4 separate regions of the Homo sapiens genome follow, and regions 1, 2 and 3 are each linked to region 4. Evidence: promoter capture Hi-C in 16 types of primary human blood cells and fetal thymus (Javierre and others, 2016). All regions are on one chromosome and are shown on one strand. The core of a region is centred on a gene start or on the middle of the fragment in contact, and the rest is flanking DNA. Distances in the headings are between cores, read along the strand shown.

Region 1 (3,066 bases), core at 204-2,703, 800 kb after region 4:
TGAGCCAAGATCAGGCCATTGTACTTGGCTACTCAGGAGGCTGAGGCAGGAGAATGGCTTGAACCCGGGAGGCGGAAGTTGCGGTGAGCCGAGATCGCGCCATTGCGTTCCAGCCTGGGCAACAAGAGCGAACTCCGTCTCAAAACAAAACAAAACAAAAACCATGTTGAACTGAATGACTAAAGGGATGATAACACCTGCTTCACAACTGCAGTAATATTTATTTATTTTGGTTTTGTTTTTGAGATGGGGAGAGGGGAAAGGGGGGACCTCAAAGGGGTCTTGCTATATTGCTGAGGCTGGTCTGGAACTTAGACTCCTGAATAGCTGGCACTAAAGGCGTGCACGGCCAGTATATTTAAGTGACACAATATAGTGAATGGTAAATGCTACTATATTAGCTGTTGTTAATCATAATTATAACGTTTGCCATCTCTAGCGATCATACTTTAACCTTTCTCCATAACTTCAGTCTAAATATGTTGACATGTGGTCAAAAGTAATTCATGTTAGGTGAGAAATTAAGAGGAGTCATCCAGGCCTGAAACCAGCTCTGAGAACTGGATATACAGCCACCAAGTCACAAGCAAAACACCTCTCACCATCCCCAGCGCGGTAAAGGAGGGACCAAGGATGTCTATTGGTCGTCTGCTAGTTTGCTTTCATTAAGAGTCAGATGCTGGGGCCACGGTGTAGGTGTCACTGGAGCTGCGGGGGGGGCAAGATGACCCCGAAGTCACGACAGAAACAGTGAGTTTCTGCTGCTGACAAGTGCAGCCCTCTCAAGACAAAGAGCGAGTGCCATGTTTCCCAGATACAAATTCCTCCGGGGCAAGACCCACAAGGAGACCTGGTTGCTGGCGCCACCCAACAGCTCCTTCTGGGCTGCCCCTGGTTCTGTTCCCGCCCAGGGCTCCCCCTTTATCTCATCCTTCCAGCCCCTCCTCACTCACCTCCTTGCACAGCGCGGCTCAGAGGGGGCAGCGGAGGGGGGTCCTCAACTCCCTCCCAGCTCTCCGCCACCACCCCCCAGCCCCCTCAACACCCATTTCCGGCGCCCCGGCGTCCTTTCTCCCGCTCCGCGTCCCTCCTCCAGCCCGGCGTTCCCGTTCCCAGGACGCTGGCTCCCTCCTCTCCCGCTCCCTTGACTTCCCCGGCTGGGGCTCCGGCCACCGCCCCTTCCGGCCCCCTCCGGCGCTAGACACTAGCCCCGCGACCTCTTCCTTACCCCCCGACCCCCGCCCGTACCGGGATCAGTTCCTTGAGCGAGCGCCGCACAGGCACGATTTCCAGCTCGCCCTCCTCCACCTCCATGGGCTCCGGCTCGCCACGGTCAACACCGGACTCCGCCTCAGGGGACGGGAGCCCCAGGGCCGGCCCCGCCGGGGCCTCCGCCTTCACCGACACCCGCAGGCCCCGTACGGCCGCCATCGCTGCCTGCCGGCCGCACCACTGAGAGCCCGCCCCTCACGGCCGCCGGCTAGAGCGCCGCTGCCACTGGCCACAGAGGAGCCGCCGCAGCTACCTAGAGCGTCGCCGGCTTCGGCCCAGAAGGCCGCCCTTAGCGCCGCCGCCCCCTGGTGGCGGGAGAAAACCGGGCCGGCTGCGCGGGCGGGACCTGGGGAGGAGAAGGCGGGACTGAGCGGGGACGGGGGCGGGGCCTGCGGGAACTACGGAGCTTGGAGGAGACCGGGGTAGTCAAGGGTTACAATGTAGCTACGCCTTGAGGCTAAAGCTGTACTAAAAGCCAACTTTCCTGAGTGATCACTATGGGCCAGACACTTCCAAGCGCTCGAACCCTTAGAACAACTCTATGAAGTAGATCCTATTTTGACCCCCATTTCATATATGAGGAAACTGAGGCATAGAAATTGACCCAAGGTGACGCCATTTAAGGGATAAAAGCTGGATCTAAGTCTTCCAGAGTTTACAATGAGCCTTGATATATCACCTCTGGACAATCTGTAGGTTTATAAAGTTACTTGCCTTGCCAGTCTTTGTCTCTTAAAAGTCTCCCCAAAATTGGCCCATGTTACATACACAAAAATTGAGACTCCAAGAGGGAGAGACCTGCCCAAAGGCCAGAACTTGGACGCCGATTTCCTGACTCCTGAGGGTGCCATCCACTGTAGACCTGTGAGCATAGTTTCCGGCGGATATTTCTAACGAGAGCCTGGTGGGGGAGAGGGGTTGTCTACGCGTCCCGAGGGTGTCACTGATCAGCTGCTGTTCTGAGTCCTGATTTTCTTTTTCTTTCTTTCTTTCTTTCTTTATTCCTTTCTTCCTTCCTTTCTTTCTTCTTTTCTTTCTTTCTCTTTTCCTTCCTTCCTCCCTCTCCTCTTTCTTTCTTTCTTTCTTTTTTTTTTTTTTTTTTGTAGAGACAGGGTTTCACCATGTTGACTAAGCTGGTCTCGAATTCCTAACCTCAAGCGATCCACCCGCCTCGGCCTCCCAAAGTCTTGGGATTACAGGCATGAGCCACCGCGCCCGGCCTGAGTCCTGATTTTGCATCTTCCTCCCTGGGTAACCTTGGACAGGTTTTTGGGTCTGTTTTCCCATCTGAGGAGGGCATAGGTGAGACCCTACAGTCTCTGAGGCCCTGAGGCCCTACCAGCTCTGACCATGGAGGAGCAAATAATGATAAACCAAGGAAGAGCATGGTCAGCATCAGACACACCTGGGTTTCGAGCTGGCTGGCCGGGCCCCATCCACCATGTGTGACCTTAGGCAAGCTGCTTAGCACTTTGGAGTCTCAGTTCCTTCATCAGTAAAATGGACCATTACCTACCTACAAAGGAGGTTGTGAGGGTTAAATGTGATAATTTATATGTAGATACAGGGTCCAACAGAAGGGGTGCAGTACATCACAGTTTTTCTTAAATTTGGGCTAAACCACAGGATAAACACAAGACAGAGCTCTTTAGAGGACTAGTTTTATTTGATGAATGGGACACAAAGTACTTTTAAAAATTGGGTTGAGGCCGGGCACGGTGGCTCATGCCTGTAATCCCAACACTTTGGGAGGCCAAGGCGGGCAGATCATGAGGTCAGGAGATCGAGATCATC
Region 2 (3,032 bases), core at 1-2,500, 520 kb after region 4:
GGCCACTGGTGATCCTACCCCAATAGGAAAGCTTCCTGGAGGAAGTTTCCGGAGCCAGGTGTCATCAGGCTGGAGAGAGTCCCCCGCCCTCCAACTCAAAGGGAGCAGGCTCAGGATGGAGGAGGCATCGGCGAGGGAGAGCTTTGGCCCTGGAGCGTAGGCAACCTTGAGGCCAGGCAGGTGGAGTAGCCCACAGAGAGGGACTCCTGGGCACCCGGCCCTCCCGTGTCCAGTCACGGCCTGATGAGGATGGGCAGCCTCTATGGCTTTCCCCATCCCCACGTGGCCTTTGGTGGACTAAAAGGCTGGGATGCACCGAGCGTGAAGGAGACAGAAGAAGGGCACGTCTCTTGCCCCTCCCAGGGCCTCTGGTTTCCTTTCTGAGAAGTGGGCTGAATGGTCCCCAAGGACTCTGTGGCCCTGAGAGCTGGTTGCTCTCTCTCTTCTCTGGGCCCGAGAATGTGGCCTGCCCTGGGCCTCTGGGGCAGGAGAGGCTCAGGGAACTCTGGACTAGGGCCGCAGCAGCTATCATTAGCTCCCTGAGTCACCCCGTAAACCCCACGTTCTCACCTGCTGGACTCTCTTGTTGCCCTGGCCCTCCCTCTCTCTCCCAATCCCTGACACTGATTGAAATGGCCTTTCCCGGGCGACAGACCAGGCCGCGGAGCCACAGCTGCTGACTCAGCACCTGTGAGATGCCTGGGCCCCGTCTGTCTCCCACGGTGGGGCCACCTCCTCCCATCCTGAACTCCCATCACAATCCTGCCCCAGAAAGCCACCTCCCTGGGTCAGCCTCGGGAGGCAGGAGCCTCTCCTCTGCCCCCAGCAGTGGTGAGATTGAGATGTCCCTCCCCAGGATTCCCAAACCTCAGGGGAATGTTCCTGAGTCTGTAAGGACCTATATTCTCACACATCCCTACAGCCAAGAGTGCAGCCAAGAGTGCCTCCCTACAGCCAAGAGTGGGCCCCTGGCTGGGGCCCAAGCTCCTTCCAACCCTCCTCCCAAGGCCTATTGGCCAAGGGCAGACATGGCCCAGAGGACCTCTGAGGGCCACGCTCTGGGCTCCCCAGGGGCCTTGGAGATCACCAGCTGCCTTGTGCACAGAAGACTCACCTGGTGAGGTTCTGGGTGGTCGTGGCAACCCTTGCCCTGAGATCACCGCATGTCTGGGGCCCAAGGCCCCCGGGTGGGACTGTGGCTGAGGCGGCGGGAAGCTCTCATTGCAGGCAGAGGGATGGCTGGAATGAGGCGTCAGAGGCAGAACTGGCTGAGCCACCTGCCCTCGGCGCCAGGCAGGCCACGCCCACCAGCCACAGCTGCAGCACCCGCCCACCCACGTGGCCCGTGTGAGTCACCCCCACACCCACACAGCAGCCTCATCCCCACCGGAGAAAAGGCAGGGGAGGCCGCAGGTGCCAAGATCGAAGTTGTGGGTCCAACTCCTCCCTCTCTGGCATTCCATGCTGGGCAGGGACTGCCCATCTCAGGCCTATTTTTCCAACTAGGAAATGGGAATGATAACATCTACTTTCCAAGGGAGCCGTGAAGAGCCAAAGAGATCACAGAGGTGGGAGGGCCTAGTGAAGAGTCAAGCGCTCTGCTCTGTCCCCTGGGAGGGAAGACCGCAGCCCAGGCCTAGCCTGGTTGACCTCAGGGTGGCCAGCCCCAAGACTCGGCACTTGTTCTCAAAAGTCGGTTCCTGGGATCAGGTCTCTCGGGGACGGAAGTCCCCATTTAATGCTGTCCACCAGCAGTCACGCATCATGGCCCTTAGTGTCAGCCTCACCCCTTCCTGGCTGAATGACCTTAGCAGGTCATTTCTCCGAGCCTCAGTCTCCTCATCTGTGAAACGTGCTTCATAAACCCACTTTGCAAGGTTATCGTGGGGCTTCAACAAGTACAAGTAGAAAGGGCCAGAACAAGGCCCAGGGCACGGCAAGAACTCAATAAACAATGTCAGCTCTTAGCTATGATTGCTTTTGTCATCTCAATGTATTCTCCCAGCAACTGCCCAGGTTGCCCTTCTCCAAGGCCAGGGCGTCATAGAAGGAATCGGTGCCCTCTCTCCTGGCCCAGGCTGCAGCTGTGAAGTGGGTGGAGTGAGTCAGGATGGCCGTGTGTGTCTCGCGTCACTCAGGAACTGCACACCTGCTCCCCGGGGCGAGATGTGGACAAGACACAGCTGGGACAGAGCAGGAAGTCTCTGCTGACGCGGCCGCAGCTGGCGCCTGATGGGCAGGGAAATCCCCAGCTGTGAGCCTCTCAATCCCTCATCATCACAACCTGCCTGGCCTGGGGAGGAGGCAGGAGGCAGGTGAGGCTTCTAGGCCACGGGAGAGCAGGACCTATGGCCGGTAAGGGGCAGACCAGACTTGAGGGTGTGGGTGAAGCAGGAGACCGCTTCTGCCGTTGAAGTCAGGGGGTCCTGAAGTTCCCACTCACAATCTGAAATCTCATGACTGTGCCTGAAACTCGACCGGAAAAGCCCGATCTGGGGTTGAGCACGGCCTCCGGCCACTAGCTTACTCACCCTCTCCCGACCCAGCCCCGCGCCCTCCCTGTTTGCCTCTGGCGGCTCAGACGCCTGGGGAGGAAGCTGCTGCCAAATGTCAGTGCTTCCATTTTGCTCGTGTTCATAACTTTTCTCAGAGGGCAGGTGGGAGCTGGTGAAAAAGGCCCCTGTCTCCCACCCAGAGGTGTGCCCTGTGCCCAGCAAGGAAGAAGGGGACCCCCGCTCTGCTATGAGAGGCAGCAGGAGCCAGGTCACCCAGTGGAGTCACAGTCACTACTTAGGAAGCCCGAGCCCATCCTAATCCCACCCCAAACACACAGAAGCAGCAGCTTCAGCCCCTTAGATGGTCTATATTCAACCCCATTTAACCCAGCACATGGTGAGAGCCCACGGGAGAGGCCGTGGCAAGGGCGCAGGTGGACAACGAGGGATTCAGAACTGGAGAAGGCCGTGTCCACCCTCGTGGGCCACAGGGGACACAGGCTCAGGCAGGAACCATGACCCACCATGTGGGTCATC
Region 3 (2,929 bases), core at 242-2,741, 650 kb after region 4:
CAGGACTGCGAGAATTAAATTTCTATTGTTCAAGCAAAAGCAACTCCATTTATTCATTCATGCGTTCATTTCACATCTATTCCCTAAGCAGTTAAGTGCTGCTGGGGCCCCACCCTCAGGGCATTCCCGGACTGACAGCGACATCAGGCAAATGATCCCCCAAATAAGCCCAATAATTACACTGTGGGAAGGCCAGGGAGGAAGGGAGAGGGAGTTACTGGAAAGCCCAGATCTGGGGGCTGAGTGGATGCTAAGGGAGTGGAGGAGGACGGGCAGGCCTGGCTGAGCAACAGCACAGCGCCTACGAGGCCGCTCAGGTGGGAGGCGGCCAGGGGCCTGGGGATGCAGCTCAGAGAACGCGGACTGCTGGACCTCCGAGGGAGAGCCAGGCGTCAGGGCTGCCCTCCCAGGAGGAAGCAGGAGGAACTCCACCGCATTTACTGAACGAGTGGAATGAGGCGCATCCCCATTGTCCAGCGCTGCTTCTCCCCTCCACCTGCTCACCCCCGACCCACCCCGGGGTCAGGGCTCTGAAGGCGCCTGGCAGAGCAGCCTCCACAAGTTGCCTCTTTGGCTTTGTGGCGCCAGCTCCTGCCAGGTGGCATGAGGATGGGGGAAGGGGATGGCCGAGCTGGGTGCAGAGATAGAGGCCTCTGGGCAGGACCCCCAGCTGGACACCAGAGAGGCTGGCCGCGGGTGGGGCAAGTTGACCGGAAGGGAGCTCAGGAACATGCCGGGCTGATGAGTTTCTCCAGCTCTGAGTAGGCAGTGACACCCTGTGATTATAAATAACCTGCCGGCGCCTGGGTCAGCTGCCAGGCCAAGGCCCAGGGAGGCTCCTGGGGCGACAGCTGCCACCCAGCCCCCTGGCATCCCTGCCCCCTTCCCATGGCCCTAACACGTGGGGACCCGACTCTGGGAGAAGCAGCTGCAGGGAAAGCCTGATAAATCGAGGAAACCAGAAGGCCCCTGCCCACCTCTCATCACCTCTAGCGCCAGTGGGGGAGTGGAGAGCCCCCTCTCTACACCCTACTCCTACACCCAAGGACCCAAAGAGGACCCCCACAGCAAGCAGGCTCACAGACCCCCAGCTACCGGGAAAACCGCGTGCACGCCTGCGAATTCCAGGACCCTGGAGAAGGACGCGGCGGCTGGCACCCGCCCTGCCCCTCCCCCGCCTTCCCAAAAGTCCGCGGAGAACTTACACGACCAGGTACGCCAGGATGGAGGCCTGCAGCAGCCGGTACAGCAGGCCCACCTTCTTGTTCTTGGCGATGACATACTTCTCGGTCTTGTAGTCGAACAGCGACAGGCAGAGCCCCTTGCAGCCCGCCTGCCCCATGGCGCGCTCTCAGCCGGGCTTGCGGACCGCCCGGCCCACGTGCGCTCATGGGGAGCACTCGGTCCCTCGGTCCCTGCGCGCCCGGCGCCCGCCTCGGCCCGTCTGCGCCCGCTCAGCTGCAGCCCGGGGTGTCCGGCAGGGCTGCGGGGCGCGGGGGCGGGTCGGGGCGGCCTTTTATTGACGCGGTTGAGAAAGCCTCGGCTGGGAGCTGGGCGGCGGCGAGCACCGGAACCTCAGACCGCGACCTTGCCGCTACCTCTTCTTCCTCCTCCTCCTCCTCCTCCCCTGACACAGTGACACCCCTGCAACCTACTCCCCAGCCACCGGTCTGGGAGCGCAGCCCCCCGGATGCGCAGGACCGCCCTGTGCTGTTGCCCAGCTGAAAGCAGCGATCGCGGAGGAGAGGAAGTGAAAGGGGGAAGGGCTCCTTTTTATTTTATTTTAAATTTATTTATTCATTTATTTTTGAGACGGAGCCTCGCTCTGTCGCCGAGGCTGGAGTGCAGTGGTGCGATCTCAGCTCACTGCTACCTCCGCCTCCCGGGTTCAAGCGATTCTCCTGCCTCAGCCTCCCAAGTAGCTGGGACTACAGGCGTGATAATTTTTGTATTTTTAGTAGAGACGGGGTTTCACCATGTTGGCCAGGCTGGTCTTGAACTCCTGACCTCAGGTGATCCGCCCACCTCGGCCTCCCAAAGTGCTGGGATTACAGGCGTGAGCCACCGCGCACGGCCGGGAAGAGCTCCGTTTAAAGCAAAACTCCCCTTTCTCTCGCAAAGAAATCCCAAAGGGTTCTTCCTATTGAATAGATGGGGAACTGAGGCCAGGGGAGGAAGGAAGGGGACACAACAGGTTTCTCCATTCACCTCGCGCCAGGTCTCCTGCCAGGGAGATACATTCTTGCTCCGTGGGCAGGGGGTGGTTGTGGGGGGGAAGCCGTGGCTCCCCCACAGGCTGGAAGAGACAAGACTTGTCCCACCTGAGGCTGCCTGTGTCTGCTGCGACTAATGCGCGTTTCTACTGCAGCAGCTGCTGCAGGTTTAAAAGCCCACACTCCGGCGGAGTCGGTGGTCAGGCAGGTCCCGAGTGCCGGCAGCATGAAGACCTCCCTCCCACACTCAGGGCGGATGGTGCGGGGGTGGGGGGCAGACGGGGTGGGGGCGGGGAGACACAGGCAACCCACCCTAGGATCCTAAAAATATGCCTGGAGAGTGCGCATGTACCAACTGTTTGGAATGGTTCCCAACGCACAAGAAATAGAACTGATCCATGCAGCTATGACTGCAACCCTCTCAGTATGTGGAATTCAACAGGAGTGGGAGTGGGATGAGGGAGGGCCTCCGGGGGGGCAGGTTTAGAACTCCTGACAGCCAAAGACGCAGGGCCCTGGGTGAGCGCGGTGTGGTGAGGAGCTGCGCACGCTTATTTTCTGCATCCTGCAGTCTGACCACAAGCAGTCCTGCTCCTCTCCCTACCCCTGGCTTTCACACACAAAGAGGCTCCCTTCCCTAAGCCACAGACTCGGGGAACTGGAAGGTACCCTGAAATTCATCAGTGTGATTCTAAAGTAAAAGCCCCAAGGAAGGT
Region 4 (2,995 bases), core at 234-2,733:
TTGTGAAGCGGTGGAAAGAGAGCTTTTCTGAAATTGGATGGACAGTAACAGCAGAGGTGGATGGGTATGGCCCCCGGCACATGGTGTATTGAGGCAGCTGGCAGATGTTGGAGGTGTATGTGTATTTTGTGTGTCCCTGTGCAGCTTGATTTAGCTGGCTGCCGGTTTTGGCACTCACCTAATATTTCTCATGGATGAGGAGCGTAAGCTAAAGGGCAACTTCCATGATACTCCGATTGTTTCCTATTATATCAACTACATTGGACTCCATTTCCATTTTCAACACAACTGCCGTAGCAGAACTCACTTTTTTTTTTTTTTTTTGAGATGGAGTCTCACTCTGTCGCCCAGGCTGGAGTGCAGTGGCACAATCTCAGCTCACTGCAACCTCTGCCTCCCAGGTTCAAGCAATTCTCCTGCCTCAGCCTCCCCGGTAGCTGGGACTACAGGCATGTGCCACCACGCCCAGCTAATTTTTTGTATTTTTAGTAGAGACGGGGTTTTACCAAGTTGGCCAGGCTGGTCTCGAACTCCTGACCTCAGGTAATCCGCCTGCCTCGGCCTCCCAAAGCACTGGGATGACAGGTGTGAGCCACTGCCCCAGCCCAGAACTCACAATGATCATCTAATTTAGTCATCTGAAAAGCCCACGAAGGCATGTATTATTCCCGTTTCACTTAAGGGATCAGTTTCAAATTTCAGTTTGGGATCCAAATCTCATATGCTGAGCTCAATATGAAAGGAAGTTCCAGACTTGGAAGGTTCTAGATGCACAGAAATGTATCAGGAAAAGTGCATCCTGGCTCTCTCTGGTTTCCCTGCCCAGCTTGGAGCCCCTGTCCTGGAACCCATGTGTCCAGCATCCCACGCTTCTGCCATCATGCTGTGCCAAGTGGTGCCTGTCTGAGCCCACGGTTACAGATGTCTTATTTCTCGGGTGTTAGATTCCACCTGTTGAGTCCCCTTGGCTGCAAGTCAAGCTTCATCTTTCACACAAACTCTCTGTGCCCATCTGTACCTCACGGTTCGGCTGCTTCCTGGGTTCAACCCTTCCTCCCAGAAAATGTGAGGTTACCTATATCTGGACACTTTGTGGAGGTGGAACATGTCCTGTCTCTGTGGGAAATGTAGGAGGCATGGAAGTCATCAGCTATGCTGGTCGGTATTGTCCCTCCAAGCCTGCAGGCTCTCCTAGGGTTCTGAAAGCTCCCTGATCGGTCTAGGTGTCTGTGGTCAGGTGTTCTTTCTCCCGAGGTGGGCACGCCTCCAGGTTGGGGCTCAGTTTTAGGACTCTTAAAATCTGTTTTTTCCACTCAGCGTCTAACAGCTTGTAGCAGTCACTGGACATTTTGGGGGTGGGGGTGGGGGTGGGGGCACTGTTTTGCCTGCTCCGTGGGGGAAAAGCTTTCATGAGGAGTCTGGTCAGCCCGCGCTCAGATTTTCCCTCAGTCTCGTTTTTGGAGTGCTCCCTGTGTCCAGCCATGCCCTCTCCCACATGCGCTCTGACCAACCTTCGGTGTCCCCTGGTTCTATTCTAACAACAACATTGCGGTCCAGTTCCCTAAGCTTGCAGTGATCCTCAGTTAATACAACAGTTATTACAACAGTCTCTTGTGTGTTCAGACGCAGCCCTGTTTGTGGTAAACTTCACATTCCACGCAAAGCCCTTCTCACCCATTTCCTGGGGTGGGCAAGCCTGGTGGGTACAGATCTTGGCTTGGGACGTGGCAAAGACGCCCTCCTTGACCGTACTTCAGTCAGGATCCTCTGGCCGTCTCTTCAATGAGGCCTCACACTCGACCTGTCCTTGGTTTGCCAAGGCAGTTTTAGCAAAGAATCTTATAAACCAGTGTGAATATCGCCCTGCCCTTGATATTTGATCAAGTTGCTCGTCCCCCACCCTTGATACCTAGGCTCCTCTTAGTAATTTCCCATCTAAGGAAACTCCTCACTCTGCCCATCGGCTATAAATCTGCAACTGTCCCTGACGTGTCAAAGTTGAGTTCAGTCTTTGTCCCCTTTGCAGTAGTCTTGAGTAAAATCTTCCTTGCCTATTTAACTCTGTCTGGTGTGATTTTTCTTTGACAAATGGCTGGTCAGTTCTCACACCAGTGCCCCTCTTTGTCCTGGTGTGGTAGGGTGGGGTGCAGAAGGGCCAAAGGGGCATCTCATTTTGATACTGCCCCAGGGGAGAGCGCTGGTGAGTCTGGGGAGTCTGAGAAGCAGACACCAAGACAGCGTCAACAAATTATTAGGAGAAGGGCCTGTGAGTGAAAACGGAGGAGGTGGGATATGGAGGAGGCTGGAAAAGCTGTCAGGCTGTGATGCAGGTCTGACCCTGCACGGAGGAGAGATGGGAGTGAGGGAGGTTGCGTGAAGGCCTCTTAGATGGGGTGCAGTTCTAAGGAAAGTTCAGGGCTGGGCACGGTGGCTCACGCCTGTAATCCCAGCACTTTGGGAGGCCGAGACGGGTGGATCACAAGGTCAAGAGTTCAAGACCAGCATGGCCAAGATGGTGAAACCCCGTCTCTACTAAAAATACAAAAATTAGCTGGGCGTGGTGGCGGGAGCCTGTAATCCCAGCTACTCGGGAGGCTGAGGCAGAGAATTGCTTGAACCCAGGAGGTGGAGGTTGCAGTGAGCCGAGATCGCACCACTGCACTCCAGCCTGGGTGACAGAGCGAGACTCTATCTCAGAAAAGAAAAAAAAAAAAAAAAAAAAAAAAGGATGAGTTGATGAGTGACTCCATCGAGTGAAATAATAACACAAAGCAGCTCATATCAAAGGACTAATAAAAACAAACTGCAACATAACCAGCTCCACATAAAAATGTACAAATGAATGATCATACACACACCAGTGAGGCTGTACTAGGAAAGGCACAGACACTTCATAAGAAAGATGGTAGAACGCTTGCTCAAATTATTGGGTCAAATGAATTTTATGGATCCTCCTGCAAGACATTCCATTAAAAAATTAAATATTAGACCAGCA

What was found. Contacts are between HindIII fragments. The CHiCAGO score rates a contact against its expected background, and 5 or more counts as called.
Region 1: the fragment with the promoter of NCBP3 here is called in contact with a fragment that was not itself captured in region 4 in 2 of 17 cell types (naive B cells and total B cells); the score reaches 5.3 in naive B cells.
Region 2: the fragment with the promoter of TRPV3 here is called in contact with a fragment that was not itself captured in region 4 in 2 of 17 cell types (M1 macrophages and M0 macrophages); the score reaches 6.8 in M1 macrophages.
Region 3: a contact is called between the fragment with the promoter of P2RX5 here and a fragment that was not itself captured in region 4, in 5 of 17 cell types (endothelial precursors, M0 macrophages, M1 macrophages and 2 more). The highest score is 8.9, in endothelial precursors.

Annotation. Positions count from the first base shown.
Region 1 is chr17:3,844,793-3,847,858 of GRCh38, forward strand. It overlaps NCBP3 (nuclear cap binding subunit 3), which reads right to left and starts at 1,454. Exons shown (of 13, transcript NM_001114118.3): 1 at 1,249-1,454. The coding sequence starts at 1,431. RefSeq lists silencers at 1,153-1,442, 1,623-1,742. The HindIII fragment of the contact is 12,990 bases long and covers 1-3,066 here.
Region 2 is chr17:3,556,562-3,559,593 of GRCh38, forward strand. TRPV3 (transient receptor potential cation channel subfamily V member 3) reads right to left here and starts at 1,251. Exons shown (of 18, transcript NM_145068.4): 1 at 1,115-1,251. RefSeq lists a silencer at 210-269 and enhancers at 1,451-2,267, 1,910-1,969, 2,050-2,099, 2,130-2,359, 2,268-3,032 and 2 more. The HindIII fragment of the contact is 5,895 bases long and covers 30-3,032 here.
Region 3 is chr17:3,694,664-3,697,592 of GRCh38, forward strand. It overlaps P2RX5 (purinergic receptor P2X 5), which reads right to left and starts at 1,492. Exons shown (of 12, transcript NM_002561.4): 1 at 1,206-1,492. The coding sequence starts at 1,342. It overlaps P2RX5-TAX1BP3 (P2RX5-TAX1BP3 readthrough (NMD candidate)), which reads right to left and starts at 1,741. Exons shown (of 15, transcript NR_037928.1): 1 at 1,206-1,741. RefSeq lists enhancers at 563-1,079, 1,192-1,241 and a silencer at 1,362-1,721. The HindIII fragment of the contact is 7,185 bases long and covers 1-2,929 here.
Region 4 is chr17:3,040,160-3,043,154 of GRCh38, forward strand. No RefSeq gene overlaps it. Among named protein-coding and RNA genes, the nearest start is that of OR1D5, 22 kb to the right of the region's middle. The HindIII fragment of the contact is 162 bases long and covers 1,403-1,564 here.